3 separate regions of the Homo sapiens genome follow, and all the other regions are linked to region 2. The links are contacts of gene promoters, found by promoter capture Hi-C in blood cells and fetal thymus (Javierre and others, 2016). All regions are on one chromosome and are shown on one strand. Each heading gives the region's core, a stretch centred on a gene start or on the middle of the fragment in contact. The rest is flanking DNA. Distances are from core to core; before and after follow the strand shown. Region 1 overlaps TENT4B (terminal nucleotidyltransferase 4B). Region 2 holds the start of CYLD (CYLD lysine 63 deubiquitinase). Region 3 overlaps TENT4B (terminal nucleotidyltransferase 4B).

The links. The method cuts DNA at HindIII sites, captures the fragments that hold promoters and counts their contacts. A CHiCAGO score of 5 or more calls a contact.
Region 1: a fragment that was not itself captured here is called in contact with the fragment with the promoter of CYLD in region 2 in 13 of 17 cell types (naive B cells, naive CD4 T cells, naive CD8 T cells and 10 more); the score reaches 20.4 in naive B cells.
Region 3: a fragment that was not itself captured here is called in contact with the fragment with the promoter of CYLD in region 2 in 11 of 17 cell types (naive CD4 T cells, total CD4 T cells, monocytes and 8 more); the score reaches 10.8 in naive CD4 T cells.

Annotation. Positions count from the first base shown.
Region 1 is chr16:50,204,732-50,207,431 of GRCh38, forward strand. All of the region lies in intron 1 of TENT4B (terminal nucleotidyltransferase 4B), which reads left to right. Among named protein-coding and RNA genes, the nearest start is that of TENT4B, 53 kb to the left of the region's middle. The HindIII fragment of the contact is 6,724 bases long and covers 1-2,700 here.
Region 2 is chr16:50,740,772-50,743,471 of GRCh38, forward strand. CYLD (CYLD lysine 63 deubiquitinase) reads left to right here and starts at 1,315. Exons shown (of 19, transcript NM_001378743.1): 1 at 1,315-1,353; 2 at 1,991-2,070. CYLD-AS1 (CYLD antisense RNA 1) reads right to left here and starts at 1,976. Exons shown (of 7, transcript NR_184279.1): 1 at 1,900-1,976; 2 at 557-633; 3 at 1-23. It overlaps MIR3181 (microRNA 3181), which reads left to right and starts at 1,534; the gene lies at 1,534-1,606. RefSeq lists a silencer at 1,130-1,729 and an enhancer at 1,970-2,069. The HindIII fragment of the contact is 2,791 bases long and covers 845-2,700 here.
Region 3 is chr16:50,223,602-50,226,301 of GRCh38, forward strand. TENT4B (terminal nucleotidyltransferase 4B) reads left to right here. Exons shown (of 12, transcript NM_001365324.3): 8 at 1,056-1,182; 9 at 1,290-1,393; 10 at 1,497-1,684. Among named protein-coding and RNA genes, the nearest start is that of ADCY7, 42 kb to the right of the region's middle. The HindIII fragment of the contact is 8,159 bases long and covers 1-2,700 here.

The DNA.
Region 1 (2,700 bases), core at 1-2,500, 540 kb before region 2:
TCCTGCTAGCAGTTTTTGTGTATTCTTCCAGAAATTTGCCTTGCAACGCGTTTGAGTATATAAATAATCCCAGAAAGGATGGGCCAGACACTAGCAGAAACTCACCACACACACTGCACTGGGCATGCAGAAACTTTGCAAAATGTACTGGTGTGTGCTGTCACTGCATTCCTGGGTTTGGAGGTCTTCTGTGTCCCCAGCTGTCAGTATTGCCCACAGGCTGACCACTGAGCTCCTTCCACAGCCGGCCCATATCACCCTCTTTCGAAGTGTGTCTGCAAGGCTAGATTATTAGAGTAATTTAAGTGTTTCTGCTTTGTGTTTTCTTTAATGAATTTTTTTATGATGAAGTTCTTGTTTTAAAAATATACAGTGGTAATTAACATGTATGCATTTTTCTTAAAATGACCCCCCCAGTCCCTCTTCGGATGTGATCACTGTTAACAGTATCGTATATAGACCCTGTTCTGTGTGGGGCGGGCAGAGGGCTGGTTAGTGGGTGGAACATGCATACTCACAACCATATTTTTCACATGGGAAAATATAAAGGTGACAACAAATCTCCTGGACTATAATCTCATCAAGCAGACAATAATCTCTGTTTCAAAAGTGGACAAATACATGCTGATTTTTTAAAAAAAATTATAATAGTACAGAAAGATACAAAAATAAGTTAAAGTCTTCCTAACTCTCCTGCCTGTGCCCTCCACTGGGCAAAAGTCCCTGTCCCTAAGGTAATATCTGTTAACAGTTCTCCTTCCAGAAAACTTGCAATGCAAATAGGAACATTTTGTGTGTCTGCCTCTGTGTGTATGTGTTTACATGTCTTTTTTTTTTTTTTTTTTTTTTTTTTTTTTTTTTTTTTTTTTTTTTTTTTGAGACAGAGTCTTGCTCTGTTATCCAGGCTGGAGTGCAGTGGCATGATCTCAGCTTGCTGTGATCTCTGCCTCCTGGGTTCAAGTGATTCTCATGCCTCAGCCTCCCGAGTAGCTGGAATTACAGGCGCCTGCCACCACACCCAGCTAATTTTTGTATTTTTAGTAGAGATGGGGTTTCGCCATGTTGGCCAGGCTGGTCTGAAACTCCTGACATCAAGTGATCTACCCGCCTCAGCCTCCCAAAGTGCTGGGATTACAGGTGTGAGCCACTGCTTCTGCCCCTGCACATGTCTAACGCACACAAAAGAGATTCTGCTGAACACATTTTTTATGCTTTTTCTTTCCAATTTAACATATTTGACATCTTTATCAGCTTATATAGCTTTATTTTTTTAAGAGGTTATTGGCTATAAAGGGAAAGTGCTTTATGGGTGCTTCTGTTGTTATTTAATTGGATCCTGTTGATGGACATTGATATCATTTCTAAATTTTTTAGTATCCTAATTAATCCTGTGGTGAGCATCCTTATACAGATATCCTTGTTCCCTCATGAAAATATTTCTGGAGGATGGAAAGAAGGGAAATTTTAAAAATTATTTGTGTAAACATTATCGTTTGTTAGTAGAATGACCTCAGGAGAGATTGTAGTAATTTATACTTCCCCACATGCATATGAATGCCTTTTCAATATATTGTTTCAAAATTGGATATCATGAACCTTAAGAGATAAATATATATGTATGTATTTTTTTTTTTTTTTTTTTTTTGGTGGGGGCATGTCCTGTTATTGACAGTTTGTTTTGGTGGAGGGATGTCCTGTTATTGACAGTTATCGAATAGAACTTTGTCAGTTCCTTCATGTAAGGGATGAATTTGGTAATAAAACAGGTCTGACTTCAGTTATGGAACTGGGAAAGCTGGACCTTGATGTGGAGGTGGGCTCAGACATGCTGTGTCTGGGCAGGTATCTCTTGGGAAGCAGTGTCATCCCTGAACAGAAACATGGATGAGCCGCAGGGGACGGTGCTGAGCAGAGGGGCTGGCCGTGGGTCATCTGCCTCCCTTGGCCTAGAAGGCACAAGGGAGCTTTCCACCTTGCCTTTGGTTTTGAGAATGCAGAAGCTACTAAGCAACTCACAGTGTGCCCAGGGTGGTCCAGCTGAAGGATGCGAAATGGTTCTTCCTTTTCCAGCCAAAGATCTTGAACCTCCCACCCCATGACAAGCATTATAAAATTCACATAATTTTGATAGGCTGGATTCCTTTTCTGTAGCAGATCTTTCCTCAGAACAGAAGTTTGTTTTTTTTTTTTAACCTAAATTACCTGTGAGTTTTATTTTTTAAATATGGAATCTGTTTTTTGGACACCTCCTTGTCATATTAAATGTTCTGTTATTAATTTTGAGATTTTAATGTAAATTTTACCCCAGCAAATTAATTTTGTTTCTCTTGCTCTCTCTTTTTTTTTTTTTGGCATCCTTTCCCGTTGTATAGTGGTGCTCATTTTATCATACTGCTTTTATATGACTTTTCTTTTGTGAACAGGGATCTTGTTCACTTTTCCTTTTTTAAAAATTTTTTTATTTTTTTGAGACGGAGTCTTGCTCTGTTGCCCAGGCTGGAGAACAGAGGCACAATCTCAGCCCACTGCAAGTTTTGTCTTCCGGGCTCAAGCGATTCTCCCACCTTAGCCTCTTGAGTAGCTGGGATTACAGGCGTGCACCATCACGCCTGGCTAATTTTTTTGTATTTTTGTAGAGATGGGGTTTCACTATGTCATCCAGGCTGGTCTCGAACTCCTGGACTCAAGCGATCCACCCGC
Region 2 (2,700 bases), core at 65-2,564:
CTACAGCAGTGTGGTCATGAAGCCTGGAAAACAGGAAGATAGGAGTGACAAAAGAGGGACAGGAGTAGAATGAGGCTTAGGTTTTCAAAAGATGCTCATTTCATTTTGGATGACTATGGCAAGGAAGAGTGGTGGCCTGTCTACTGCTACTGTTAGTCATCACTCATGTGACTGTTTTTATGTATTCATTGGTTTAAATTCCCTGGATCTCCAGAAACATGTCACTTTCCACTGGGGGAAATTTGTGTCATGATTAAAAACACACACACACACACACACACACACACACACACCCCTCCTCCTTTCTCAGTGTTAATCACCTTCTCCTATAATTAGCACTTAAAATGTCAAAGGAGAAGAAATTAATTAACAGGAGTATCCAGTGCAGCAAGGCTCTAGGACTGATTATAAAAAGCACTTCCTTAAATATTTTGAGTGCTTTTGGGAATCAGAAGCCTCCCTTCTAATTGAAAGATCCTTAACTACACCCTAAGTCCTGGCTGGTGGCCAGGGGTGCGGGGCTGAGTGAGGCGGCGTGTGGAAATCCCTTCTTCACCATCCTTGGGAAAATTCCCTCCAAACTGGGATAGGTGGCAACAGAGGTTCGGAAACAGCAAGCGTCCCAGGCTGAATCTGCGGAGGAGGAAGAGATGAACCTTTCCTGAGCTGGTACTGCGTGCCAGGAACTTTAGCTCGGTATTTTGCCACAATCCTGTAAGACAACCGATACTATGATCTCCATTTTACAGATGAGGACATTGAGGCTCAGCGTGGTTGTGACTTCCTCAGGTCACGCAGCCACTGAATGAAAGCGCCAAAGATTCAAACTGAGGTCTGATTCTAAAGCTTTGCTCTCTCACGGCATCCTGGAATCCTATTTCAACCTTCATCTGGACTCTTAACCCAGCCCAAACCTAAGCGTCTACAGTTTTGACAGCTGAGGCGGGAGCACGGGAGGCGGAGCTGGTGGCAGCGCAGCGCCCCGCCCCGGCTCCAGCATCAGCCAATGGTGACGCGGCACCCACAGCCTTTCGCCCAATCAGCTTGAGCTTCCCGCCTCCATCCGCCGCTCTTCTCTGCCCCGCCCCTTCGCTTTCCCTTTGGTTCCACCGAGCTTGACAGAGCGGAAAGTCCCTTCGGCCGGCGCCGGGCTGGCAGCCATTGGAGGAAGGTCTGTCACAGGGAGGCCCAATCACGGCCCGCTCAGGAGCGCAGCTCGGCCTACGATTGGCTAGCGCGGCGGCTGCCCCCTCCGCCCCCGCTCCCTCCCTCTTCCCTGTGCGGTTCGGAGGCGGGGCAGGTGGGGGCGGGCCCAGGTAGCAGGTTTGGCTGCGCGGGGGCCGCGCGTCGGAGGTAAATACTAGGGCGGTGGGTGTGGGGAGCCGGGGCCGGCCCGGGACGCGGGCTGGGGAGCCGGGGCGAGGGGCGACGCCCCGCCGCCCGAGGTTAGTGAATGAGCGGGCGGCTGGCGGCCGGCGGGCGGCCGGATCCCCTCGGCGCAGCCGCCTGGCCTCAGGGCGTCCGGAGCCGCCGCGGCGACCATCGGGCCCTCGGCGCCGGCCCGTTAGTTGCCCGGGCCCGAGCCGGCCGGGCCCGCGGGTTGCCGAGCCCGCTGACGTCAGCCCGGGTTTCCCCCCCCCACCGGGGCTTCCCCATCCCCCGAGGCTTCCCGGGAGGGCTGCGAGTCCGGGGAGCGTGCGGGGTCGCCACCATCGGGACCCCCAGAGGAGAGAGGACTTGGGGCGGGAGCCGCGCGGGACGCTGTCCCCCTCCCGCCCCCCACCCCATTTACAGATTGGGAGACTGAGGCACAGGCCGCTGGCGGGCCCCGACGGCCACGGTTGGCCTCAGGAGCCCGGGGCTGTGATTCCTACCGACCGCGCCGCGGGGCGTACGTACCGATCGATTTTGCGGGTGTTGGTGGCTCCCGTCCAGGAATGGCAGTCGGGGTTCTGGCCTTGTTAATGGCGTGTTCTGCTTTTTCTTTCAGTTTCCCCCTTTCTAGGGTGAGGATGGTTCTACACAGCCACCCGGAGTTCCTTAGTTGAAAGGTGCGCCCTGCTGTGACAGGTATTCTTTCTTTATGTTTTTCTTTCATGTTAACAATCGAGGGGGGTGGGGGGCGAATGGGGGGCGGGGGCGAAGTCATGAAATCTTCAGGAGATGGTGTTGAGTTTGGTACTCAGCTGGGTCAGCTGCCGGTTATTCATGTACTTGGCATCGTTTCTCTTCCACCCCTTGGCATTTGAATGTTTTAGGATAGTTGTCATCTTCCAGCCACCAAGCCTGTGGCCTTGCAGTCTCCCAGCCCCCATCATCCCTGCCACCTTCTTCTCCTCAATTTTTCCTGGAAAGTTTTATCCTTAGCTCAGCTAAGGAGCATGCCTACCTTGCTTTTGAATTCGGGCTAATTAGGGATCTTAATAAGATTGTTCATTTTGCAATCATTGGCTCTCAGAGAAGCACCCAGGCCTTGAGAGGGTGTTCGTTTGATTGTTGGCTTTCTACACACCCCCTCACGCCCCAAGTAGACTGAATGGCCTTAAGAATTTAGCCTCCCATTCCCCACTGAGCAGTAGGTGGATTTGAACTAGAACAGTATTAGGAGAAAATGATTTGCTGGAAATTCTTATTGAAGTAACACCCAGAACATTCTCTAATATTCTGCTGCAAAATTGTATAGTATTCTTGCAAATAAAC
Region 3 (2,700 bases), core at 139-2,638, 520 kb before region 2:
TCTGTTTAACCCTAAAAGCATAGTAGAAAAGGCATTCACTTATTTGGATGGGTTCATGTTTGGTGGCTGTTTCTCCTTCTTGGGTCCTTATTGCCTTGATTACAACCAATTGTCAGCAATTAATGAGGCTTTAATGAGATGATTCTGAAGTCCTGAGAGGCAGCAAGCATAGTAATATATCTTTGAATTCATGAGCAGAAGGGTGCAAGGAGACAATGTATTTTCTTTTTGAATTTCTCCTTTCCTGTTTGATTTTGCATGTCTCTTTGTGCTTTTTCCAGCTTCATGTGGGCTTGAAAGTAAGCAGAAAGTAAATTCCTTCCATGCTTTTCTGAAGTTCTGTTTGCTTGCTTGTGTCCTGATTTTTGTGAGCAATATTTTTTCTTGATATAATTGTAAAATAGATTCTGCGTTATTGGACTTCAGTGGAAGTGCTTTTAGTCATTTGCTTTAATGTGTAAACTTTGAAAATGAGTAAGGAAAGGGGGTGAAGAGATAGAGTAGTTGCCTAGGAACCATTTTCTGGCTTATTGAGCTGCCTTATAAACATTAATAGTTCTATGTGTTTATTCATTGAGGAAACATTACATTGATTGGGAGCCTGCTCTGTTCAAAAGTATTGGGCCAAAGGACACGAAGACTTTTCAGCAAGACGATCCTTGCTTTTTAGGGGCTCATAATTTAGAGTGAGAAATAGATATATAGCTAATATAAACCCAAAAAATATAGAAGTATTTCTGATGTAACTTGGGGTTTCACTCTTAGGAGTGAACAGGGCACTATTTCTTTTGTTTGCATAACTGTTTATGTATGGAATGGGATAATTCTTGATGGGCCAGAATACATTCCGGCAACTGATACACCATAATGAAGTACCAACTGCATGATTCACATATTCAGAGACTGGGGAGCTTTGGGGACAGCTCACAGCTCAGCTTCCAGGCACAACTCTGGTGGGATAACTATGGCCCTTGCTCTCCTGGAAGAGAGTCATCAACATTTAGTGCATATTAAGCACAGTCAGGCTTACTATGTTACGTATATTTCTTTTAAAGGTAACGATGTTGGAAGGAGTTCATATGGGGCCATGCAAGTGAAGCAGGCCTTTGATTATGCCTACGTTGTTTTGAGTCATGCTGTATCACCAATAGCAAAGTACTATCCCAACAATGAAACAGAAAGGTAAAAGTTCATCTATAACCAGCCCATTGTGTCAAAATTAGTTGTGGCTTCTTATCTTCAAATTAATGTTATTCCCTCCCTCTCCCTTTCTTTTTAAACACATGCAGCATACTAGGTAGAATAATTAGAGTAACAGATGAAGTTGCCACATATAGAGATTGGATATCAAAGCAGTGGGGCTTGAAGAATAGACCTGAGCCTTCATGCAATGGTAAGATATTTTCCTTGGTCGATTGACTGAGTATTAGAGGCTTTTCTGTGTTGTGTGCGTTTAATGGGAAGAAACGTTTTCCAATCTTTTGCCACTCTTTCAGGAAATGGTGTTACCTTGATAGTAGATACTCAGCAGTTAGATAAATGTAATAATAATCTATCTGAAGAAAATGAAGCCCTTGGAAAATGTAGAAGTAAAACCTCGGAATCTCTTAGTAAACACTCTTCAAACTCTTCATCAGGTCCAGTGTCGTCCTCTTCTGCCACACAGTCCAGCTCTAGTGATGTAGTAAGTATGAAAGCCTCGGCTCTTCTGAACTCAGATGCATGCACGTTCTCTTGCTGGGGTTAACACTGTCTCGAAGGCTAAGGCTACTTCCTTTGCTTACATGTTACTGGGATATTTTAATAACTTTCATGCTTGTACATTTTCTCAACATTTTGTTATGAAAAAGTTCAAGCATATAGTAAAAGTGAACAAATTTTAGTGAGCATTCATGTACTCACCAGTAGATTCTGCTATTAACCTTTTACTTGCTTATGTCATACCTGTCTATCCATCACTCTATCCATTAATTCATCTTATTCTTTGATCCATTTCAAAGTAGATTACAGACATCAGTTCCCCTAGAGTACTGTAGCTTGTGCATCCTTGTAGCCAGACTCCAGTATTTGTTTATTGTTTTTTCCTTTTTTTTTTTTTTGAGACGGGATCTCCCTCTGTCACCCAGGCTGGAGTGCAGTGGTATGATCTCGGCTCACTGCAACCTCCGCCTCCCATGTTCAAACGATTCTCCTGCCTCAACCTCCTGAGTAGCTGGGATTACAGGTGCGTACCACCATACCCAGCTAATTTTTTGTATTTTTAGTAGAGACGGGGTTTCACCATGTTGGTCAGGCTGGTCCTGAACTCCTGATCTTGTGATCCACCCGCCTCAACCTCCTAAATTGCTGGGATTACAGGCATGAGCCACCACACCTGGCCTTTAACGTTTTTCTTTTCTTTTCTTTTCTTTTTTTTGAGACGGAGTCTTGCTCTGTCACCCAGGCTGGAATGTAATGGCATGATCTTCACTCACCTCAACCTTCGCCTCCTGGGTTCAAGCGATTCTCCTGCCTCAGCCTCCTGAGTATCTAGGATTACAGGCATGTGCCACCACACCCAGCTAATTTTTTGTATTTTTAGTAGAGATGGGGTTTCACCATGTTGGCCAGGCTGGTCTCGAATTCCTGACCTCAAGAGATCCACCCGCCTCAGCCTCCCAAAGTGCTGGGATTACAGGCGTGAGCCCAGCTGTTATGACT